Linked DNA regions of Homo sapiens: region 1 is linked to region 2. The links are contacts of gene promoters, found by promoter capture Hi-C in human tissues and cell types (Jung and others, 2019). All regions are on one chromosome and are shown on one strand. Each heading gives the region's core, a stretch centred on a gene start or on the middle of the fragment in contact. The rest is flanking DNA. Distances are from core to core; before and after follow the strand shown.

Region 1 (5,555 bases), core at 230-2,729, 260 kb before region 2:
TCCTATGTGTCCCCCCAAAATTCATATGTTGAAGCCCTAACCCGCAGTATGATAGTATTTGGAGGTAGGGTCTCTGGGAGATAACTAGGTTTAGATTATATCTTAGTCCATTTGGGCTGCTATAACAGAATACCATAGACTGTGTGGCTTATAAACAACAGAAATTTATTTCTAATAGTTCTAGAGGCTAGGAAGTCTAAGATTGAGGCACTGACAGATTCTGTATGTGGTGAAGTCTTCCTGGTTCAAAGATAGGTGTCTTCTTGTTGCATCTCAGCCTGGGGAAAGTGTGAGGGCACTCTCTGGGGTCTCTTTAACTGATATCATTCCTTAATCATCTCCCAAACACCTCACCTCCAAATACCATCATGCCGGGCATTAGGTTTCAACATGAATTTTAGGGAACACAGAAGGTCATGAGGGTAAAGCCCCCACCATGGGATTAGTATCCTTATAGTAAGAGGAAGAATTCAGAATTCAGAATTCCCTCTCTACACACTCACACTGAGAAAGGGCCATGTGAGGACACAGCAAAAAGGTGGTTGTCTGCAGGCTAGAAAGAGCTCTCACCAGAAACTGAATCTGCTGGGACTTTGATCTTGGACTCTCCAGCCTCCAATACTATGAGAAGTAAATGTCTGTTGTCTAAATTTCCCAGTATATAGTATTTTGTTATAGCAGACTGAGCTGACTAAGAGACTGTGCCATGTTTCTCTGGAGCTGGGAAGCAGTTTCAAAGGCTTTCACTTGGCCTTCCCCACCATTATAGCTTTTACCCCATAGGCAAAAGTCCTAATGCATTTGCATCAATTGCCAAAAATGACAACTCCATTATACATTTGAAGAGTGGGGAAATGATAATTAGTTGTGGTCACAGATCCAGTAGTAAACTCACTCTGAGCCGGACCTTGCCATGACTCCATTTATTAACTGGCTTCTTTATGCCCCCATTATAACAGAAGGCCACGATGATGCTTGTGGTCTGTGGATAACAAGTTAAATTCATACCCTCTGTCTCACAATCCTTGGCATGTTTGGGTATGTCCATTTCCCCAGGGTACAATTACCCAAGTAAATGACTAAAGATCCCTTTGGGGAAGGACTGAGGAAACCATTACCATTTATACTTGTTGAGGTATAGCAAAGTCCTTCCTCCTGGCCTCTTCAGTCAATGGGTTCCAGGTCTAAAAATGCTCTGGTCTGGAAACTAAGGAATTGACTATTGGGTGACTATCCTTAGCATCCTGGTCATCTATCCTTAACTTTTTTTTCCCCACTGGTACAAAATAATAGAGCTTAGTTGGTTGTCTATCTATTTTGCCCCTAAAGACGCCACCATCTAGTAACCATTTCTATAACTCTCTGAGGGTCAAGTCCCCTTGGTAGGTCATTATAATTGCGACCTCCTGGCTTCTAGTAATTAAGCACTGCCAGTTGGCCAGTATTGTTTTGGGGTCTATCATCTCCATTGCTATCAGTGAGTCAAAGTCTGGGAGGCCTCTGCTACCATCAGTCCTGGCTTGCAGAGAGCCACCACTGAGGTTTTTAGTGATGTTTATGTCCTTTGCACCAGTGCATTCCCTAATGGCCTTGGTAAATGGTGTGTCCTCTGGGCCTTCCCTCAGAACATAATGATCATAACCTTCCAGGCGTACGTAATATATCCACTCCAGCAGACCCATTTCTGTCAACCTTTTAATCCCTTTTTGAGCCACCTGCCTGCCCTAGCACTCCTAGCATTTCGTTTTCTTTTCCCATGCTTTTAGGAGCCATTGTAGTAGTTAGTGAATGTTCACGTCAATTCTTGGGGGTCCTTGGCAGAATATTAAATCCTGTATTTGGGAGAATACTCCAAATTCAATATAACTTTCCCATTCAATTTTATGTTCTAGCTCCCCTTGCTTAAGCATCATCTGAATCCAGCCCCATGTACTCTTCTGAAGCTCCTGTTGGTACGTGCTTGTCTAGGTCTTACATCTTCTTTGGGGAACAGTCATTTACCTCTACCCATCAGGTACAGCACCTTCCCAACTAGGTTATGCTATGATTTAACCCTAATTATAGATCTACTGGCTAGAAGGCTAGATGACAGGTGTGAGTGCTGGCGGAAGGGAGAACATGCCTTTCAAGTAGAAGCCTCTGCAATGTCTTCTAGTACAGGAAAGTGATAGCTCTGAGTAGGGAGGAGGGGCCACACTGCAGGCTTCAGAGGAGCCTGGGGAATCAAAATTTTCATGATCACTACCCAGATGGACCCTCCATGTGTCAGGGTGCTAGATTTTCTCAACCATGACCCTGACTTTGACACAACAGACCTATTTTAGGCATTTAACCATCTTTTAAGTTTGACCACTCTAAAGTAGTCTTGATGCTCAGCTTTCTCCACCCTTCCCCTGCAGATGAGAGCTGTTTTTTATGCAACGAACAGGTGCTCTGGCTTTCACACCAGACCTTCAATTGCTTATTACCTACCCTTAGCTGTTTTTTATTTTTCTGTAACCAATGGAGTTTAGCAATAGCCATCCAATTCTATTATTCTTATAGCTACAACTTCCACCATATATGTTAACTGCCAGATATATCACACCTGCAAGTGCATTCTCTTCCACCTGGTACATCATCCTGATTGGACCATTACCTTGTGCCAGGAGCTGACTATGCTTCACCTACCACCTGCTAGGTAGTCTATAATTCAGCTCCCAAACCTCATCTGGTTGTCTACTTTCTCCAACCAATCCTCGTACTAATTCTTGCAGGCAGCCTTCTTGAGGAGCAGGTGCAGAGAGAGACAAAGCTGGAGCATAAGATGTGAAAGGAAGGGAGAGGAAGTAGGACTGGTAAGAGAATGAAGTCAAATTCCAGTACAGGTCCAATAAAGCTTTGGCCAGCCTCGCTAAGAGCTCTGGAGTGAATACTGCCCATCAGAGGTGTCCAGTGGTGGCCATAATGGCTGAGCCTTTATAGTCCAGCCTTGCTTAATCACCCAGTTTAGGCTGCAGAGAGCATGACTGTGGGCAAGGCCATTGTCTGCGATTGAAGCAGAGTCTGATGGAACTGACAACTGGAGGTAGTCTTTGCAGCTTGGGAGCAAGTCCCTCCTTGAAGGGGGATCTGGGCAGCTCATCTCCATATCTACCACAAGGGCAAACAGATACCCAGCATATTCTCTTTTCAAGGAACCAAAAGCTGTACAGTACTTTTCCATTTTTCATCTTTTGGGGATATCTTCACCAGCTGGGGATTTTTTTTTAACCTGGTAAGGGAGGCATAGCAGAGAATGCTATTTGTCCTCTAATATCCATTCTATCCTTCTTCCTTAATATTATAACCCCTGATTTTTAGTTGGGTATATAGCCACCCAGAATAATGTTGTCAAATGACTAAGTTCTGGCCAATGGGCTATAAGTAGGAATGGTGTGTACAGCTTCCAGGAAGTATCCTTAAAGAGAGGGGACCATGGTCATCTCTGTCCTTTTTTCTTTCCTGCATAGGACTGTAGACATGATGGCTGGAATTTAAACAGCTATAAAGGACCGAAAGGTAGAAGCCACATGTTGAGAATGGAAGAAATTAATTAGGTCCCTGATGGTCACAGAACCACCATACTAATCTAGACTGCCTACTTCTGCATTATGTATACATGATAAAGACATGAATATTAATTTTAGCTAAGGACACTTAAAAATATTCTGTTACTTATAAACAAACCTATTCCTATCGGATGCAGAGTTTGGTTCCTATAAATTTGTGCTACACATAACCTTAAAAGAAATGTGGTTTTTAGTGGAAGCATTTGGGCAGTGGGTGGTAAAGACTCAGATACTGCAAGATGGAAAACTGGTGACCTTTGTTCTCCAGTTGCCAGACATTTGGTAAACCTGTTGCCAGCTTTAGAAGACAGATCACACGCCAATCAAAATTGTGGCACGAAGGGAAATGGCTGGAAATATCTATAAACTTGGTATTTGCTGGCTTTTTCTTGACACTTTAAACCAAGTTCTATGAGATATGAATTCAGGCCAGAAGTAACCAATTTGCATGTAGAAATGGAAAAGAATACAGTTTTGCTAAAGGAGAAATTCTGCTGTAATCCAAGTGGATTAAAAGTCTCATAATTTGGGCGGGACGTGGTGGTTCATGCCTGTAATCTCAGCACTTTGGGAGGCCGAGGCGGATCACGAGGTCAGGAGTTCGAGACTAGCCTGGCCAACACTGTGAAACCCCGTCTCTATTAAAAATACAAAAATTAGCTGGGCGTCGTGGCAGGCACCAGTAATCCCAGCTACTTGGGAGGCTGAGGCAGGAGAATTGCTTGAACCCAGGAGGTGGAGGTTGCAGTGAGCCAAGATCATGCCATTGCACTCCAGCCTGGGGGACAGAGCAAGACTCCATCTCAAAAAAATAAAAATAAAAGTTTCATAATTTGAAGATTTAAAGGGCGGAAAAAAACCACACTTCTTCTATACCTTTAGACTGAAGTACAGTTGGCCCTCCACATTCATGGGTTCCATATACATGGATTCAACCAACCACAGATCAAAAAATCTTATGAAAAAGGTACACAAAGTTCCAAAAAGCAAAACTTGAATTTGCCACGTGCCAAGTGTTAAATACTATGTTAAATCCATGTGAATGATGTGTAGGCATTGTATTAGGTAATTAAGTAATCTAGAGATGATTTAAAGTATAGGTGGGATGTGCATAAGTTGTATGCAAATACTATGCCATTTTATATATGGGACTTGAGCATCCTCGGATTTTGATATCCATAACGGTCCTGGAACCAATCCCCCATGGATACCAAGGGATGACTGTACACAGAAACAGTGCCTGTGAAACTTTGGAAGGAAATATGCCTGGCATTTACCCACACAAGACTGACAAATATAGGATTGAGAATGCTGTGAACCTATTAAATCCCATTGTTTCCAAAGGGATTAGCTGTCATTAAGAGTGGGGTAACTGGGGAGCACACAGAAACTGGGAAAAAAGTTTCGGGGCTTAAAAACTCATCTAGGCAAGAACTGTGGCTAGAATTTCTCCCACAAACAACTGACTGAAAGCAAAAGAATGAGAAGCATATTAAATTTTTACATTAATCATATTGCCAGAGACACACCAAACTTCTGCTATTGCTGTTGACAAGCACAGTTGTGGAGGTGTTTGATTTTTCTGAAGCAGCATTAGCAGAAACCTCAGTGTCTAGCCACTTGTCCTGTGGGCCTTGACAGACGGGACGTAGGATATGCATGGCACTGGTGCAGATCATAGTGGGTATAGTGTGGTTCTAGGGTCAGCGGTGCACGCAGCTTTCTGATGGTGGTTTCCTAGGCATGGCAGCAGCAGTGTGATTCAGAGACGTCATTTCCTGATCATAGAAGAGTCATTGCTTCCTTGGTGGCCTGGTTCTGGGAAGACTTTGGGACTCATTCCTGAAAAACTAATCTAGAGCCTATTTAATCAACCCTCCCAAGTATTCAATATCTTTGTGTTTATACTAGCTAAAATGGATTCTATTTTCCGCAAATGAATCTTAACTGATACCACACATTGTG
Region 2 (5,799 bases), core at 1,542-4,041:
GCCCAATCTCTCTTCTGCACCTTCAACCTGCACCAAAAACCAAATAGATATTTCTCTCTGAATGATTCATGAGCCCCTCAAAATTAACATGTCCAAAACTGAATCATCATCTCCATCCCACTTGCATCTCCCAATCTCAAACTCCTTTTTCCTCCTGTACTCCCTTACCCCAAAGACTGCCACCATCATCCACGTGGTTGCCCAACTTAGGATGTCATCCCAGACTCCTCAGTCCGCCTCACCTTGCATGTCCAATCACCAATCACTACCATATCCACCTCCTGTCTGTCCAATAAGTGCACATTTCTTCATTCACATTATCTTAATTTTATAACTTCTTAGAAAGCTGTTCTTATTTGCATTTTGTGTTGTTTTGCACAACTGATTCTCTTTTTCTCTTGTGGTTTGTCCTATCCCATCTGGTGGCGAACTCCACTAATAGACATACAATTTCATATCCAACTCTCTAAAGTGCACTTACTTTATCAGCATGATGTTTTCAGAGATAAACTTCTGGTTCTAATAAGAGAAATTAAAACTAGGAATACATGTCAAGTAATAACTTTTTTTTTTTTTTTTTTTTTTTTTTTTTTTTTTTGAGACGGAGTCTCGCTCTGTCGCCCAGGCCGGACTGCGGACTGCAGTGGCGCAATCTCGGCTCACTGCAAGCTCCGCTTCCCGGGTTCACGCCATTCTCCTGCCTCAGCCTCCCGAGTAGCTGGGACTACAGGCGCCCGCCACCGCGCCCGGCTAATTTTTTGTATTTTTTTTTTTTAGTAGAGACGGGGTTTCACCTTGTTAGCCAGGATGGTCTCGATCTCCTGACCTCATGATCCACCCGCCTCGGCCTCCCAAAGTGCTGGGATTACAGGCGTGAGCCACCGCGCCCGGCCAGTAATAACATTTTTTAATGACATCATCATCAGAAGTAAGACCTAATTATTTTACAAAAAAAAAAAATTTCCTGTCATCATAACTCCCTGGGAGAAACTAATTACTACAAGTGTTTGATGACAGGTAGTATAGGCCCTGTACTATCCTACGCACATTACACAAATTATGCCACTTAATGTTCACAACAACACTATGAGCTGGGTCCTATTATTATTCTCATTTGCCAGACGAGGAAACGGAAATTTGGCCCAACAACTTGGCCAAAGTCCCAAGCTAGAAAATACCAATCAGGATTTGAACCCATGTCGGGGTCTGAGAGTAGAGCCCATGCTCTTAAACACTTGCTATTTTGCCCCTTCAGGAAAAAAAAAGTGCTAGAACGCTGGAAAGAAAGAAAAAAAAAAGCCTCTGCCTCGAAAGCAGCTAGGACGACAGGTGCAACACCACACCTGGCTAATTTTTTTGCAGAGATGGGGTGGGGGGGACTCGCTATGTTGCCCAGGCTGGTCTTGAACTCCTGGCCTCAAGCGATCCTCCTGCCTCGGCCTCCCAAACTGCTGGGATTACAGGCCTGAGCCACTGCATCCGGCCCAAAATTTTTAAAGAAATGTCAGCAAACTAAAAAGACTCAGAGCCACAGAACTACAACTGCCCCAAAACAAAAAAAGGTAATTTAATATGAATGCTTCTTTTCTTGGGACATCATAATTCACACAAATATGATTTTATTAAAACAAAAATGTCTACTGTCTCATACATAAGTATACTCCACAAAGAAATTCTACAAATATTAGAGTCCTCTGTCATTTAATTTTTATTTGGCGGGTGGGAGAAAGGTGGCAACCAACCACCACAAGTAGGTGAAAGGCTTTGAAACCTCCACCTCAATCACTTGCTTTACTTCAAGACTGCAATCACTTGCTTTACTTCAAGACTGCTAACATATAAAAGGATGTCAGTGTATAAAGAACACTGCCTATCATCCATCTTCTCGGGTGCTCTGAGAAACACAGGCGCACAGTTAAATTCACAGGCGAACTCAGAACAAGCTTCAGCCTGCAATCCGTCAGGGATTCGGCAGCTGCACACCGAAGGTGCAGCCCGCAGCTCTCAACTTTTCATTCTGTCCACACGTTTTCAATCCTGGACGCACAAGTCCACTTTGAACCTGGCCCGAGGGTGCAAAGAGGGTTCCTGTCAGATTTCTCAGGAAGAGAGAGACGCGTGAAGGAGGGGCGGCCTCCCACCCGCCCCGAGCCGCCGCGCGTTTCTCCTTTTGTTGGGGTGGAGGAGGGCGGACCCCGCACCCTCTAGGGGCCAAGAGGGGTGGGCGGAGAGACGGGAGGGGGCGAAACGCCGCGGCGGCCCCCGACGAGCCCGGGGGTGGGAACACAAAGAATTTGGGAAGCGGCCGACCGCCCTTCCATAAACCTCCGCAGAAGTCCAGGCCCGGGCCGCCGAGGAGCAGGAGGAGGCGGGCGCGCTGGAGTCCGCGGCCCTCTCCGCTCCCTGCCGAGGCTCAGCGGCGGGCGCGGGCTGAAGGCCGGGGTTCGAGGGCGGCGCGAGGCCTCCGCTACCCCCTCAGCCACCCCGAACCCCTTCCGCCCCGCCGCGAGCCAGGCCGCGGGATCCCGGTGCCGGCCCCGCCACACCCACCCGCCTCCTAGGCCAGGCCTGGGAGGACTCCGCGGCTCTTTCTCGGGCGGCGGCGGCGGCGCGCCCCACGCCGGATATTTACCTGCTGATCTTCTGGGCGAAGGCGCGGCGCTCGGCCATGGCTGCTGCGGCGACGGCGACGGCGGCGGCGGCTGCGGCGGGCCGGGTGCGGACCGGCGGGCGCGTGCCTCCTCGCTCGTGCTCCCTCCCTCGCGGCCTCCGCCAGTCCGGGCTCCGGACCTGGGAGGCTGGGGCTGGCGGCCGGAGCCAGGAACGAGCCCTGCCGTAATGTTCCTTAGAGGCGCGCAACGAGAAACCGCTCCTCCCCCAGCGCGTCAATCCCGGCGGGAACCCCGGCTGCGGAAGGCGGCTGCGGCCGGCGGGAGCCGAGGGGAAGAATGGAGCGCTGAGGAAGCGAGGCGCCAGCCCCAGCCGCTTCGCTGCCGCGGAGCCTGCACGACCGAGAGGTCGCGGAGAGAAGCCAGAGACAGGCCAGCGACCTGGCGAGGCAAGAAAATAAGATAACCGAACGCGTAGGGGGAGCTTGGCTTTCCCGAAATGGAAGGGAAGGAAATGAAAGGTGGGCTTTGCCGAGGGGGCTGTGCTTTAACCAAAGCCCTGGATGACTGGGTTCATGTTTCTGCAGCACCGGTCTCCGAGCTTTTTAAAGCACTTGGGTTTCTGCTTCGGCCTCATGAATGCAGCCTAACTGGAGAAACAGTGGTTTTTCTTATAGAGAAAGAGCCAGAAAATACCTTGCTCCTGCAGCGATAACAATAGTAATAGTTGACTTCTGGTGCTTAGCCAGCCACTGGATTAAAGTTTTTCAAGCACGAGCGCTTTGAAGTAGATCGTTACTATCACTATTTTAGAGGGAAGGAAATTGGCTTGGAAAAGCTAAGTGACTGGCCCCAGGTCGCACAGATGGTAAACTCTTCCACTGAGACTCAAACCCAGAGCCGGTTCTTTTCTTTGAGGACAGTTGTTTCCGTATTATTAACCCCTTTTGGATCTCTCTCTGTCTCTCATACATACATATATATATATATATATATATATATATATATATATATATATATATATATAAAATCCAGGTGAGCTCTAACGTTCACCCCCATTTTGATGTTCTGTTAAATAAGCTCTGTGTTGACCACTGAAACTGACCTTGTCCATAATAGCCTATAAAACAGAGACTAGCAGAGATTTGTTTTCATCTGTTCTGTTGTAATCCCATAATGTCTAGAATATTTGGCTCCTAATGCATATCTGTTGATACTGAAATTATGGTGACACTAAGAAAAATATCTTGGTTTCTTGTAGTACCTTTCCTCTTAAGTATTGCAAGAACTTAAAATGTGTATTTATTTATTGTTATTATTATATTCTCAGTATGTCCTGGTGGAATATGTTGGATACCTGTTTTCCTCTCTTTTACCATTGGAAAATCTGTAGCTTGGAGCCATTAGGTCACTTGCCAGAGTCACACACTGAGTCAGAGGTGAAAGCCTCAATTAGTCAGATCCATAACTTCCTGTCTAGTGCTGTAACTTCTGTGGAAGACTGTGTATTTATATAACAATGCTCATTGCAGTAACACACTGCTTTTATTTATTGATTTATTTATTTTAGACAGAATCCCCCTGTGTTGCTCAAGCATGGAATGCATAGGGCACTGCAGCCTAAAACTCCTAGGCTCAAGCAATCCTCTTGCCTCAGCCTCTGGAGGAGTAGCTAGTACCACAGGCTCTTGCCAAGGCGCCCTCCAGTAACACACTGTTTTCAGATGCTTGTTTACTAAAGGAAAAGATAGTCTATTCAAAGAGGACAGATATTTGGCTTCTACCTAAGTATAGAGCCCACCTAGGTGTTCTAAAAAACACGAAGGTGAACTAGACACAGACCTGCTCTCAGAATGTTTGAGTCCATTGGGAAAGATGAACCAGGTACTCACAGACTGTAAGTCAAGGCTATCACTGTACCTGGCTTTTAAGACCCTCTGTGATAGGAACCCAGACTTATTTTGCCACTTTCTTACTCTGTAACCTTAGGCAAGCTACTTAACTTCATCTCTAAAAGGAGGAAAATAATTATATCTACTTGAAAGGGTGTTGTGAAGATTTATTGAATTGATTAATATAAAGTTCTTAGAACAGGGCCTGGTTCATGGTAAGTACGATGTGTGTCAGCTGTTGTTATTATTATCACTGTTACTGTCATTATTCATCCTATACTTAAGCTTGTCCTGGGTGTTTGATAGTCCCTGAATTGGTTGTCTGCTCTCATACTCCCAGCCAGATGTTGCATGCCTTTATCTCTGTTCTCCAAACATCTTTTCACTACTCTCTTAGAGAACTGGCCACATTTTGCTTTGAATAGTTCTTTGTATACATGACTCACTAGTTGCCAAAGTGTCTGAAAGGACTTTGCATGTACTCTGCAGCTTACTGGAAACATTTAGAGCAGGAAGAGGACAAGCAGGATCACGCTGTAAGCAGGGTAATTCAGAGTCTGGGGAACACTCTAAGCAGGAAGGGTGACCCCCTACCTCTGGGGAAGAGCTGGCAGTCACAGACCAAGTCATGTTGGCTGGTATCCCTGCCCCACAGGGTTTCAATGTCAGGAAAAGATATGGAACGCAGCAATGGGAGTGACAGTGGAATTGCTTCAGCTGACTAGCATCCATGCTCCCTATACCACCCCCTACACACACACACACACACACACACACACACACACACACACAGGTGTCAATCCACTATACTTCTGGGGAGCTCACTCCACCACCCTCAGTTTCAAGGGTCTTTTGACCTGGGCCTCACCAAGCAAAGCAGCACACTCCTCTGGCTTCTGTAACTGATTTAGGGATAGGCTCATGAATCAAACCAAGACAATCGGGCCCAACCAGAATTAGAAATTGCATTTGGTATACCAGGGCACTCCATCTAAAGAAGGCCTACCTGAGAATGAAGCCAAGCACAGCAGAGAGGAGAGCAAAAATATTGAAAAAGACAAGTTCCTTAGAATATAGCATGACTTGAGCCTTGGACTTTGCAGTTACATGAGCTAAAAATGTGCTGGAATTTTTTTGGGGGTGTGGCTGGTTTTTCATTAGGTTTGCTTTCATTAGCAGTTCAAAGTCTTACCTGATACAGGACTTCATTCAGTTAACTAACATTCATTAAGTACTATACTAGACCCTGGAAATATAGTGGTAAATAGCGCAGTATTTCTGTCCTCAAAGAGTTTAGG

What was found. The method cuts DNA at HindIII sites, captures the fragments that hold promoters and counts their contacts. A contact is called where the count stands out against the background at its distance.
Region 1: a fragment that was not itself captured here is called in contact with the fragment with the promoter of DOCK7 in region 2 in 1 of the 25 tissues and cell types used here (IMR-90 fibroblasts).

Annotation. Positions count from the first base shown.
Region 1 is chr1:62,428,753-62,434,307 of GRCh38, forward strand. LOC105378768 (a long non-coding RNA gene) reads left to right here. Exons shown (of 3, transcript XR_007066146.1): 2 at 1,893-1,952; 3 at 2,757-2,838. Among named protein-coding and RNA genes, the nearest start is that of USP1, 5.5 kb to the right of the region's middle. The HindIII fragment of the contact is 6,748 bases long and covers 1-4,853 here.
Region 2 is chr1:62,685,595-62,691,393 of GRCh38, forward strand. It overlaps DOCK7 (dedicator of cytokinesis 7), which reads right to left and starts at 2,792. Exons shown (of 50, transcript NM_001367561.1): 1 at 2,633-2,792. The coding sequence starts at 2,670. It overlaps DOCK7-DT (DOCK7 divergent transcript), which reads left to right and starts at 2,888. Exons shown (of 2, transcript NR_185999.1): 1 at 2,888-3,058. RefSeq lists a silencer at 2,145-2,894 and an enhancer at 3,904-4,198. The HindIII fragment of the contact is 7,491 bases long and covers 661-5,799 here.